2 separate regions of the Homo sapiens genome follow, and region 1 is linked to region 2. Evidence: promoter capture Hi-C in 16 types of primary human blood cells and fetal thymus (Javierre and others, 2016). All regions are on one chromosome and are shown on one strand. The core of a region is centred on a gene start or on the middle of the fragment in contact, and the rest is flanking DNA. Distances in the headings are between cores, read along the strand shown. Region 1 overlaps MAP2K4 (mitogen-activated protein kinase kinase 4). Region 2 holds the start of MAP2K4 (mitogen-activated protein kinase kinase 4).

Region 1 (6,933 bases), core at 732-3,231, 110 kb after region 2:
TCACCATGTTGGCCAGGCTGATCTCGAACTTCTGACCTCGTGATCTGCCCGCCTCGACCTCCCAGAGCGCTGGGATTACAGGCATGAGCCACTGCCCCCGGCCCGCTCTAGCCACATTTCTCATGACTTCCCTCTCCTTGAATGGTTTCTGCCAAACTGAATTTCTTCAGTTACATAAATTAAAAGCACATACAGGATAATATGGGAGAATGTTTTCATTACGTTTGGGTAAAGATTTCTGAAACAGAACGTAGAAAGTAGCCAAACCTAAGAGAAAGATTGATTAAAAAAAAATGGATTTCATTAAAATTAAGAACTTCCATTGATTAAAAGACAGCACTGAATGACATGCCAAGCCACACAGTAGAAGGAGATATTTTTCATACTTATATTCGACGAAGGACTTTTACACAGAATATGTAAAGAATACTTAAAAATGTAAAACACTTATGAAAAATAACAACCAAAAATAGCAAAATACTTGAAAGGCACTTTAAAGATGATATTCAAGAGGCCAGTAAACATATTCAATTTACTGCATTCATTCTGCATTATTAGTAATCAGGAGACATGCAGGTCAGAACTACAGTGAAATACCACTATAATTACCAGAATGACCACAGTTTAAAATACTGACAGTACCAAATATTGGTGAGGATCTGAAGCAACTGGAAGTCTCATACATAACTTGTAGGAGTATAAATTAGTACAGTTCCTTTGAAAAACAAGCAGTATCCAGTATAGCTGATCTAATATGGTTGATGTATACACCATGGTTCAGCAATTCAAGTTCTGACTATATACCCAACAAAAGTGTGGACATAAATACACTAAAAGACATATGTAAGAATGTCCGGAAAAGCACATTTATAACCTACAATTAGAAACTCTCTCCACAGTAGAACAGATAATAAATTGTAGCATTATGTATACAGCAGTATATAGCATCAGAGAAGATAGAACCATTGCTTCACTCAGCAACTTCAGTAAATCTCACGAATGATGTTGAGTGAAAGAAGACAGAAAGCAGTATGTATGGTTCTATTTCTATATGAAAGTTAAAAGCAAACAATATAAGGTATTGGAAGTCAGAATATTGTTACTTTTTAGTTCTGCACTTAGGAGTTGTGTTTTCTGTATGTCTGCTTCGATTAAAAGTTTTCCTAAGGAAAAAAAAAAAAGGATAAGACTTAATGGTTCAAAAGGAAGACCTTGCCGACTGAGGTGTCTGAGCGCTCAGCATTGGGAAATGGTCGACTCGTGGGTTGATAAAAAGAATTTACAGACAACAGTATAGGTTTGAAAAAGGAAAGTTTATTAGAAAGAAAGTATGCTGCAGAAGAGTGCAGAAGGGTGCTGAGCGTGCCACAGTGGATTTTTCCTTAGGGGTATTTATGGACCTTAAAGCTTGAGGATAATTTGGACCATATTAGCCATGTAGGTAACAATAAATGATTACATTTGTAGTAATTTTGGTTCCTTAATGTCAGCAAGTGTTGCACAGTGAATTTCGACATGGCATTCTGGAGATGTATAGAAATTCTAGTTACTTACAAAGTTTTTTTGGGGAAAAAATCTGGAACCAATGCCTGCTTTAGATAATAGGGAAGTCTGATTACTTCTTGGGTTTTGTTGTTGTTGTTGTTGTTGTTGTTTTTAATATGGAGCCTTGCTCTGTCGCCCAGGCTGGAGTGTAGTGGCGCGATCTCAGCTCACTGCAACCTCTGCCTCACAGGTTCAAGCGATTCTCCTGCCTCAGCCTCCTAAGTAGCTGGGACTACAGGCTCATGCCACCATGCCTGGCTAATTTATGTATGTTTAATAGAGATGGGGTTTCACCACACTGGCCAGGCTGGTCTTGAACTGCTGACCTCAAGTAATCCGCCCGCTTCAGCCTCCCAGAGTGCTGGGATTACAGGCGTGAGCCACTGCGCCAGGCTGGGAAGTTTAATTACTTCTGATTTTCCCCAGATAAGGAATTTTGCTTCTAGATTGCCTGTTGGATAGTCATCGGGTGGTTTTTGCTCCTTCTGCATTCCTCAGATAAGGAATTTTTGTCTCTAGGGCCTGTTCAGTGGTCACCAAGTGATTTTGCTCTCCTCAGATCTCAGCCCATATTTTAAACTGTTTCCCAATTTAACTATCTATTGAAATCACCATTGGAATTTTTTTTAGGGGAAAAATTCTTTATTTGTCCTGGGGGAAGAAAAAACAAAAAATGTTATTCTTGAGGAATTTTTGTGAAACTCTGGATGGGGATAAGACTGAATTCAGGGATGGATTGCCTAATCCAAAATTTATCGTGTGCAGAGGGGAATATAAAAAGTCACTAGGACGATATAAGACCCATATACAACTCTGTAGCTTGGGCAGCAGACCTGGAAGAAGAGGCAACTTGTGGGACTGCCTAATTGTGCAACTAATTAGGCAGTAAAGCTCGATCCTGAAATGTCTTGAGGAAATGCCTTCTGTGCTAGATCTCACAGGCAGCTGGGACAGTGTAGTAGTATCTACTCCTGCCTTTCTCTTAGCAGCAAGACCTGTAAAGAAAAGCTCAAGCTTTGCTGAAATAACTTCTAACAACAACGCCTGTGTTGGTTAGAGGGCGGGAGCACAGTGCATGCTGTTAGAGCAAATGCAAAAATTAAATCCCTATAGTAGGTGATGATGCTGCAGTGATGGCTCTCCACCTAGGTGATGATACTGCAATGATGGCTCTCCACCTAGGTGATGATACTGCAATGATGGCTCTCCACCTGTTTCTCACAGTTAACCTGAATCCATAGCTGAGATTAACTGTGATAAAGAAAAATCACTAACAGATGAAAACTTTCAGTGATTCGGAGAATTGTACCTAAGAAATCTAAACAAATATTTCCTTTAAAATGTCACAGAAAAAAAAACAAGGTAAAAAATTGTAAGGAGGGAATAATTTGAATTCCAGAAACGTTATCTTCAGATAGTAAACATGATTCCTGAACTGAATGGGGGAAAATGGTGGCACACAGCAGATTGAGTATTGCAGGTTAACCAGATCTGTAAGTAACACCGTTTAGTTAATCTTTAAGAATAAAGGGCTAAAAAGATGAACATGAGGTAAATGGTAAGAGAGAAGAAAAATCCAAAATATTCTATTTAGCTGATTGTAGACAAAGAATTAAAATTAAAATTCCTTCTACTTGAAGAATAACTCAAGTTCTTAGATTAAAATACCAGACCAAATTAAACAAGAGAGTAGAGGGAAGCCACATCTAGATGTGTTCTGAGAAAAGATAAGACTTGACAAGTTTTCAATTAAAACACATGCACACAAATGTACACAAAACACCAAGTCAGCAATACCTGAAGAGCAGAGAAACAGCTATAACAGGAGGAATGTGGTTACTTCACATTACTTTGGTGCATTAGATATCTTGGACAACACTTGCACTGAAACTACTAAAATGCTGGATAAGCTTTTTATTTTATTTATTTTGAGATAGGGTCTCACTCACTCTGTCACCCAGACTGGAGTGCAGTGGCATGATTGCAGCTTACTGCAACCTCAACTTCCCAGGCTCAAGCGATCCTCCCATCTCAGCCCCCCGAGTAGCTGGGACTACAGGAATGTGCCACTACACCTGGCTAATTTTTGTTTTTTTGTTGTTTTTTGCTTTTTTGTTTTGAGACGGACTTTTGCTCTTGTTGCCCAGGCTGGAGTGCAATGGCATGATCTCGGCTCACCGCAGCCTCAACCTCCCGGTTTCAAGTGATTCTCCTGCCTCAGCCTCCAGAGTAGCTGGATTACAGGCATGCACCACCACACCTGGCTAATTTTGTATTTTTAGTAGAGTTGGGGTTTCTCCATGTTGGTCAGGTTGGTCAGCTCTTGACCTCAGGTGATCCGCCTGCCTCGGCCTCCCAAAGTGTTGGGATTACAGGCGCGAGCCACTGCGCCTGGCCCACCTGGCTAATTTCTTAAAAAAATTTTTGTAGAGACTGGATTTCACTGTATTACCCTGGTTGGTCTTAAACTCCTAGGCTTAAGCGATCCTCCTGCCTCGGCTTCCCGGAGTATTGGGATTACAGTGGCGTGAGCCACTGTACCTGGCCTGGATAAGCATTTTAAAGTGCCATTTATTTATTTAGGACAGAGTCTGGCTCTGTCGCACAGGCTGGAGTGCAGTGGCATGATCTTGGCTCACTGCAGCCTCCACCTCCCAGGTTCAAGTGATTCTCCTGTCTCAGCCTCCTGAGTAGCTGGGACTACAGGCACGCACCACCACTCCCAGCTAATTTTTGTATTTTTAGTACAGACAGGGTTTTGCCACGTTGGCCAGGCTAGTCTCGAACTCCTGACCTCAGGTGATCCGCCTGCCTCAGCCTCCCAAAGTTCTGGCATTACAGGGGTGAACCATCGTGCCCCACCTAAAGTCCCTCTTAAAATGTAAAAGAGTTGGTGCAAAACTGAGGAATCCATGGAGCTCTGAAGTTGACTGAAATTCAGGGAGGGAGATTATGGGAGAGAAGGAAGAGTCAAAGTAAATTAAAGGATAACCCAAGCAAATGTAGATTTGCCATCTAAATTCATATTGAATATGGTAAAAATACTTAGAGAATTTAATTTTAAGAAAAATTACTTTTCAGAGTCCCTGGTTGGAAAGATATGCTCCTCTTGCCCCCAGTTGATGGGCAGAAGCAAAAGCAAATCATTCAGCCTAGGACTAAATGATTCCAAAAAATAAAGTCAAGTGGAATATGTAGTCCACAAAAAAATCTCAACACTCACAAAAGAAATGAGAATCAGAAACAATGGATAGTAGGAATAGATCTGCAAAGGCTTCAAATATTGGAATGAAAGGAAACAAAAAATAAGTTTAAAGAAAAAGAGGCAGCTTAGAAATATAAGCAGGGAACACATTTATAAAGAACCAAATAGAACTTCTAGAAATAAAAAGCATAAATTAAAACAATAGCTGCATTCAACAGATTAGATATCATTGAAGAGAGATTAATGAACTAGAAGACAGAGCTGAAGCTCTCCCAATAAAACTTTTTGAGATGCTGGAAATGTCCTATAATCTGCTCTGTCTAGTGTGGTAGCTGCTGGCATTTGAAATGTGGCTAATGTAACTAAGGAAATGCATTTTTTATTGGAATTAAGTTTGCTAACGGCTACCTTATTAGATAGTCTAAGGGGAGCTAATATAATTATTGATAACATTATTAGTGTCAGCTGTAATTCAGAAAAAGAAGACAGTCAATGTTAATAGTTTAAGATTTCAACCCAAATAGCATCATAAGTTTATACACTGACATAATTTTCTGCTCCAGTAGATGAAATAGAAAAACACAAAACCAGAAAGGTATGGCAGCTTTACAAAGAAAGCAAACCTCTGTGTGGGTGAAAAAATGCAACAAAAATACTGACAGAATGCTGTGTAGATCTGATGCCATGGACTTGCTGTATTCCAGGTCATTTTTCATTCTGGAGAATGAAAAAAATGATATCAGTTACTTCCTGGGCCACAGCTTTAAGCAAGCTATGGTACTACACAATGACAAGGCTTTAGATACTGGTTTTGCAACCAGAGGACTGGAACTGTAATTGTCCTAATACCAACATAGGAGTGGAACTTGAAAGGTCCATTACAGGACCCTGTTTGATACTGGTGGCCCTGTGAAATAGAGGCAACTGTAAAACTGCTCTATGTGTGTATCCCTGGCTCCCAGTTCAGTTCATAGTGATTAGTGGGGCACTCAGACATATGTTGAACAAATGAATGGATATGCATGGAGGGTAAACATGTTATTTCAAAATGAGTCTGCAAATCATAATTCTTGAATACTGAAGTGTAATGCTAAGAAAGCATTTAACAAAATGGAACAGAAACTTACTTTAAGTTGAAATAGATTTATGAAATTGTCTGAAATATGCTGTAAAAGAAAATCAGTATATTTAGGATGCTCAAGGAAATAAAGGTATAAATTCAATTAAAACTGAGGAAGAAATAAAGTGGTTGGAAATAGAAGTCTTGGAAATGGAAAAATCATAGCTGTTGATATAAAAGACACAACAGACTTGATGTTCTCTAGACTGGAAATAATTGAAGACAAAATTAGGGAAATAGGAGCTGAGACGTTCCCCCAGCATGGCACAGATTATATGAAAAGCAGTGAAGAATCAGAACAGATTGCAGAGTTAGAGGTTCTAAGATGCATGTAATGGAAATAAAGAAGGCAACTCTGAAAGTGGAGAAGCAATGTTTACAGAGATCATAGGGGAAAGAAAACATTTGAGAACTGATTTAGTATAGGTTTTCAGATTGAAAGTGAAGTCTCTTTATCATGTAGGATAAACAAAGGTATAAGCTTAAAGGTAAATTTAAATATAAATTTAAAAGTAAATTTTAATTGATATTCTGTAGTTTTGCTTCAGTGCATAAATGATAAACAAAGGTATAAATTTACCTTTTAAATTTATATTTAAATTTACCTTTAAATTTATACCTTTGTTTATCATCATTTATGTATTGAAGCAAAATTACCGAGCAATATCAGGAAGAGAAAACAGATTATCTGTTAAGGATTGATAATAAGACTAACAGCAGATTTGTTCCCAGCCACAATAGTTGCAGGAAAAAGTGGAGTCACAGCACCAGAGTGCTGAGGGAAAATAATTGTCAGCCTGGTCCTAAAGTTTTAGACTCAGACACTCAAATATTCACAGTAAGGAAGAAATACAGTTTTAGGAATGGGAAGACTGAGCACTTACAATTTATAGACTGCTTTGATCCTTGAATGGTGTGGAGGTTAGGGATGCTGACCCCCTGTACAGTCAAAAATCCGCATATAACTTTTGATTACCCCAAAACTTGACTACTAACAAATAGCCTACTGTCAACCAGAAGCCTTACTGATAACATAGTTAACATATATTTTGTATATGTATTA
Region 2 (6,967 bases), core at 390-2,889:
ACAGGTGTGAGCCAACATCCCCAGCCTTCTTTAATATATGTTATTTATAATATTGGATGTGTGTGTGTGTGTGTGTGTGTGTGTGTGTGTGTGTGTGTGTTTAAATTAATTTTCTAGTAGTTGCCTAATCTGTAGTGCTGCTTCTAGGATTTCTATTAAAAGAATATATATTAAATTCTTATTAAAGGCCAGTTATGATGGCTCATAATTAAGATGCCCTAGGAGCAACAAGAGCTGGGTGGGCTACTGATTTCCAGATGGGAATCTGGCCATGTTTATAAGACCTGGACTTGAAGATATTGGGCAGCCAACGAGGCCCATGGAGGAGAATTCTGGCGGGCTCTCCACTGAAGTACACCTACCTGCTCTCACCTTCAATTTGCCTTTAATGCCTCTCCACTTGATGTTTACGGCTAGCCACTTTTAGGATCTGAGCCATCAAGATGATGGATGAAATTGGGTTTGGAACAAGAAGGCAGGGCTATTTTGACCCAGGACACATTTCCAACATGCTGTGAAGAACTCTCAGCATCAAATAACATCTGGGTGGAAGAAGTTTTGGGAAAGAAGTCTAGCTGTAGATCACACAATGCTTCTAAATGGGAGAAAATGTCCAGCTCCATGGCTTAGATTCTTTGGGAAGTAGGATAACTGGCTATTCCATTTTAGGCAAGGCTGCCTGGCCAGAAACCCATGTCTTACCATTTCGAGTACATTATGGTTGGCTTACAAATCGTAGCCTCATAGAGAACTTTTTCTTCTTTTAGCTACTGTCTTCCTAAAATAAAAGTCTCTGTGCAAAGCAATGGAAGAAACCTCATATTGTTTTTTGGGGTTGTCATTTTATGTAACTTACAATAATGACTACGGCTCGTCTTATACAAGATGTAAAGGATTTGGGAGAGGGAATCCAGTGTGCATTTAGGGGAAGATGGTGATGTAGATAGCATATTTCAGGAGGCTGGGAAGTGTCGAGTGCTTAAATATATGCTTCTCAAATTTAATGGGCATACAAATTACCTGGTGGTATTATTAAAATGTAACCTCTAATTCAGTAGTTTTGGGATGGGTCCATGGACAGCACTTTGGTTAGTTCCCCTTGGGACTCCCCTTTCCCCTCAGAGAAGTGTAGAGGGTTGGGGTATTGGGCTTAAGAGGAGTTCCAGACTGTAACCATAGCTCTAGGTAACTCCCTTCTGGAAGTGATGTGTTAGCGACTGGAGGAGAAAGGGATCCCTGGGATCCTTTTCAGCTTTACTATTCTGATTTGGGGTTCTGAGATTCCAACAAAGTGGACTTTTGGGAGTCACAGACCTCCATGGGAATGATGAAAGCTGCGTACCTTCTTTCCGCACAAATGCAGGCCCACCTTTAATTCTGCAAACCACTTTAGGCCCCGCGGGCCCGCAGCCCTGGTCCAAGACAGCTGTCTGCTTCACAGGTCGCGCACCCAGAGCCGGGCGGTTCTGCAGCTCAGCATCTGGCCCGGGCTGCGCGTCGGGCTCTGGCGGGGGCGTGTCAGGAGGCGTGTCCGGGGCGTGTCGGAGGCGGGGCCAAGGCGGGGGTAAGCCTCGCCCCTCGGCCGTGCGAGAGGCCGAGCTTGCTGCATTGCAGCCGCCGCGGCGCCGCTCGGCTCTTCACTCCCAACAATGGCGGCTCCGAGCCCGAGCGGCGGCGGCGGCTCCGGGGGCGGCAGCGGCAGCGGCACCCCCGGCCCCGTAGGGTCCCCGGCGCCAGGCCACCCGGCCGTCAGCAGCATGCAGGGTAAGGAACGCGGCCGCGCCGAGATCCCAGCCCCCTAGCGCGGCAACCCGCGTCGTCGCGGCCTGCCCCAGCGGACGCCCCCGGACCCGGCTGAGGAAGCCACGGCAGCCGCCGGCTTCTCCCTCTCTCCCTCCCCGGCTTCCCGCCCCGCTCCCGGCCGCCTCCGGCCCGGCTTGGATCCGGGCTCCGGCCCGCATAGGCCCCGGCCGCGGCCTCTGCCTGCGCTTGGCCCCTGGGCCCTACCGGGCTCTCAGCAGGCCCGCAGGGCCCACCTGGTCCGGGACCGCCCCCGCGGCCGTCCCCATCGCCCCCGCCGCTTACCTGGCGCCCGCCCGGCCCCCGTTTCCGGGAACGCGCCGGCTCGGGGCTGCGGCGGAGCGGGAGGGGCGTCGGGCCTGCCCCCTGGTCCCTGACGCCGCTCAGGTAGGCGGCGAAGACAGCGGCCCCGGCCGGCGCCCCTCGGCCCCGCCGCCGCAGTGGGCCCCGCTCAGGGCCATCTTGGCTGTCGCCGGGCACAGCTGGAGCCGGACCACCGAGCTGACCTCGGGCTACGGGGGCCTCTTGGAACCTGCGTTTTCAAACTTTTGCAGGGTTTCTGTGCGCTGGAAGGGATGGGGGTGGGGGGCGGGTTGCCCAGGCCTGTGCCACCTGTAAGGTAGGTAGGCTGCATTGGCCTGGGAGAGGCATTTTGTTCCAGGCCAGGGATTTCTGTGTTAGCATTGCGTGCAGGAAGAAAAAAAAAAAAAAAAAAAAAGAAGACTTAATTTGGTTTAAATGGAGAGATACAGGAAATAGACAGGGGTCAAAGTGATACTGTAGTGTCTGGACATTTGAGGCAGCTCTGCTAATTAATGACTTTCCCCACTGGGAATGCTTATTAGCTGTGTATGGCTTTTGACAGGGGGTGTTGTGAAAATACCAGGCCAGGCCCGAGCCTGTTAGGGACCATTTCCTTAAATTTACTGGGGAATTTTGAGTAGTAATGCTATTTTTAAAACAGGGAATCTCAGAACTCTCTTGACAACTTTAGCAAACTGCTTGTGTTGAATTATTAACAGAATAAGGGTTGGGGTACCCTTGGTAGTCAGTGTGACCATGGTTACTTTTTGATTCCATTCCTCTTAAAGGGCTTCTAGCATTTAGTTAGGTTCAACAGACATTTATTGAATAGTTCATGTTTATAGAGCATGCCATAATTCAGAAAGAAGAGACAGGATTTTATTTATCTTTACATCCCTGTCACCCTCCCCATGAAATAATTTTAATATACATAAAAACCAGTGATAGATATATAGACAGGATGATGTCAGAGCTTAGAGGACACTTTCTGTGCAGGCCCTCAGATAATTCATTCAAATTGAATTAGTTATTGGATGCCCACTGTGTTGCACAGCACATTATACTGATGAAGTATAAGATTGACTTCCTGACTGTACAGCTTTACAATTTAGGTGGTGGTGGTTGGGGCGAAATGAAATGGCAAAATGACAATTTAGGATTGTATTTCTTGTTCCAGATGGGTGACTTACAAAGCTTATAAAAACAAGGTGATTTGTTTGTTTGTTTTATTGGTGGGGAGGCTGACAGTTTGAAATAGCTGGATACAGTGTGTTTTTTTGGTTCAAAAAATATTTATTGAGCATCTGCATAAAACGCTCATGCTGAGTTTATAGAGAATTGAACATCTCTAACTGTCCTCATGGAGGTTATCCCCCTGTGAAGATGGGGGAGGGAAGGCTATTTAGCTAAACATGAAAAATTACTAGTTGGAAAAGTAATAAAGGTAACAAGCTGGGTTTTGTGATAGAAGATAATAGAGGGCAGTCCGCTTGATAAGATGGTCAGAGAAGGCTTGTCTGGAAAGCTAACCCTCTTTTACCTGAAGACGGTTCTAGGCAGAGGAACTGTGTGTATGAAGGTTCCAAAGCAGGGAAGAGCTTGGAGTGTTCTAGGAACTCCTAAGGCAGTGGTTAGGACTTTTTCTGATGCTGTCCGTTCTCCTCAGCCCTTGTATGTTGATACCCAGTTAACTAAACTTTCTAATAAGCAGAACCCATTTTAGAAGGAAAAAGGACCTAAGACCTCTCTATGAATTATTGCCGAATTTTCTTTTTTATCAATATTGTGTCTAGTCTTGATTGATTCAGGAATGTGTTATATCTTGTTCTTGAAACTTTTTTCATTAGTCAGAATGAAGTGCTTGATATTCTCAGGATGTTGTCTAGAACAGTCTGTTATAAAGCTTGAACTTAAGCAGCAATTTAGGATCCTTCTTTTTGGTTTGTTTTGTTCTGTATCTTAATTGTGAGGCCCTTGAAGAGGAAATCTTATAAGAACCCAAAAAGAAAGATTCCCATCCAATTGTATGGGAGTCACACCTCCCATACTGTACTTCATCTGCCAAGGGTCTTCTTTTGCTTTAGATCAGACTTCACAGAGTGGGCCTTAGAAGATGTTTGATGTACTTCCATTCCTTCTCCCCCAATCTAATTATACTTGCCACTCAAAAAACTTCCTTTCTGGGAGTTGTTAATGACCATGCTCTCTGAAACAGCAGGATTCAGTTGTGGAACATAAGGAATGTTTCATGCAGTAGACATTGGACATCCTCTTATGTGGTAAGCACTGTGGTGGGCACTGGATAACCTTGAATACTTTTTCATGGCTTCATGTTTATGGCCCAAGAGTGGTCCAGGCTGGCCAATATTGCTTTCTTAATATACTGCTTAAGAACCAGAGCTCTGGAGTTCTGGGTTTGAATCTCTTGGCCAGGATTCAGATATGCGTTTTGTGACCAGGGGCAATGAACTTGGCCTTTCGAAGCCTCAGTTTCTCACTTGGAAAGTGGGAATAACGCTTACCTCCCCGGTGGCTTTGAGAATGCATGTAAGCCTGGGACCTGACATGTAGTAAGGATGCAATACACATTAGCCATCATTGTTAGTAGCGACAATATTGTTATGGTCTCATTAATGGTCCCTTTTACTATTGGTAAATGAGTCCCTAACCTCTCATTATTTACCACACAATTTCTTTAGTTCATATTACTAGGTCCCACTGTTCTCTCTAACCTGTTGATTTCCCCACTTTTCATTATTGAGCAGTCCTTTCAGAGTATCCTAGATGAGATTTTATTCTACTTCAAACTCCGGATCTGTTTTTTTCTGGATCTGAGGACTCTCAAATGAATTACAATGTGAACGATATGAAACAGAAGTCTAGCTATCAATTTGCTCTACTCATTTTTTTCATAGGGGATGGGTAGATGGTTGGAATGGGATTTATAGTGAATTTGATTATAAGAGTAATCAACAGACGTAGCTTTGGTTGCATGTTTATGCTAACAGTTATGGCTTCTAATCTGGCCATTTTTGCCACTGTCCCTCAGATAATAGGGAATAGCTGCTAATTTTGTTATTACTCAAAAGATTTGAGTGTCTTCACTCATTCTGACTCATTTTTTTTTCATGTTCATTCACAAACACACCCAACCTTTATACGTTGAGTAGTTCTTAGGCTTTGGTTCTTTGATGACTAAAGCTAACAAAATGTAGATCTGTTTGCCAAGTTAGGTAAGTGGTTTTATGAAAGTATATTTGGCATTAGGATGAGTTTGCATTTGAGAGAGGAAACAATACTCAAATTAACTACTCTGAGAAATGTTTTTATTCTTAATGTTTCATCAATAATTTGTTAATGTAGATAGATTTAATAGGAAAATTTCTTGCATATTAGGGCCTCATTCTGTGGAAAAGTATTATTCTTTAGTCCAAGAAATTTTAGCCAACCTAAAGTACGGAATTGACTTGTAGCATTCAAGAACCTTCCTAGCCATGGCTAGGGCTTTCCCTTGTGGCAAATCTAAAGCCTCGTGACTTTAGCTGGGTTAGTGTGAATCCTGTAAAGAGAAGATCCCGTTATACCAGGTAATTAATCTTAGATATGTATAGCAAATAGTACTAGATAGTATGGTTGGCATGTTAGAGAATAGCATATTCTGATTAATAGAGCTTGCCAGTTGAGAATTCAACAGCTTCTATAATGAAATTGCATAGGCAGGATGATTCCTTTTCCAGTAGTAGCTGTAGCAGCTAGCGTTCCCATAGCATGTAGTAATGTTTAAGAAACAAAAGGATGTTGAAGTGTAAAGAGCACTGGACTTAGACTCAGAAAACCATGGTTAAGGTAACTGCTCTGCTGTTTACAAACACTGAGATTTTAGGGAAATTCCCTAACTTTTCTCAACTCTCTGTTCAGAAATTTCTCATCTGTTAAAATAGGGATAATGCCTAACCTGTAGGGCCATTGTAAGAATCACATTCTTAATGCATGTGAAAGTGCTTTGAAAATTATAGAATATCTATAAGTATATACAGATTGTTATTAGACATGATTATTTGCCTGCTGTAGCTACTAATCACTTAAAATGTAATAGATTTCAAAGATCGCTTAGCTGAGAAATGTCAGTTTTCAATAGATGTTTTCTTAAAATGGTTAGAATAGAATCTATAATTGATTCAGAAAAACATTGAGCCATTTGTAAAATACTTGTTACAAGAAATAGTTAGAAAGTATATGTTGTAGGTGCCTCTGATTCTCTTAAAGTTCTGATTTACAGAAAACTTTGTGACCAGTCGAGTCCTTAGCTATTTACCCTTAGCTGAGCATTTTTATGTATCAGTTTAAGTAGAAAGATGATAGCTTGATTCTGCTTTAGAAAACACGCCCAGTACTTTAAAATGTAATGAAGTATATCTGTTAAGAAAAAGTCAAGAGATTTAAAATCAATGTAGTTATTTCTCCCAAAAATATTTGAATATAAAATGTATATGAAATGTCCTGCTTTTGATTTTGTTTATCTGTTTTTACTAATTAGTCTGGTTTTCGAGAACCATGGGAGACCTTTATCTTAATTTTAAAGAACTGATTTGTGCAGACAGTGAAGAGTTTCAAACCCCAGAACTGCTTGCCCTTCCCAGTGTGTTGCATAACATTTCTTTTACTGTTTAACATAACCTCATACAAGTTCACCTCAGCAAATTAGTCCCCCCTCAAAGCTCAGACTGCATTTCTTCTTATGTTCCCTTAAAAATTAGAGCAACCCTAGTATTAAAGTAAAAAAGTGGAAAAACATCTCACCTCACTTTTAGAATACATATTTTCTCACATTTTCCTTTAAAATACCTTACTAGCCTGAATGTGT

Evidence for each region. Contacts are between HindIII fragments. The CHiCAGO score rates a contact against its expected background, and 5 or more counts as called.
Region 1: a contact is called between a fragment that was not itself captured here and the fragment with the promoter of MAP2K4 in region 2, in 2 of 17 cell types (activated CD4 T cells and neutrophils). The highest score is 6.2, in activated CD4 T cells.

Annotation. Positions count from the first base shown.
Region 1 is chr17:12,131,442-12,138,374 of GRCh38, forward strand. The region is part of intron 9 of MAP2K4 (mitogen-activated protein kinase kinase 4); the gene reads left to right. Among named protein-coding and RNA genes, the nearest start is that of MIR744, 53 kb to the left of the region's middle. The HindIII fragment of the contact is 1,152 bases long and covers 1,406-2,557 here.
Region 2 is chr17:12,019,238-12,026,204 of GRCh38, forward strand. It overlaps MAP2K4 (mitogen-activated protein kinase kinase 4), which reads left to right and starts at 1,640. Exons shown (of 11, transcript NM_003010.4): 1 at 1,640-1,764. The coding sequence starts at 1,650. It also overlaps a transcript of ZNF18 not described here. RefSeq lists an enhancer at 1,440-1,940 and a silencer at 1,477-2,356. The HindIII fragment of the contact is 6,257 bases long and covers 1-3,295 here.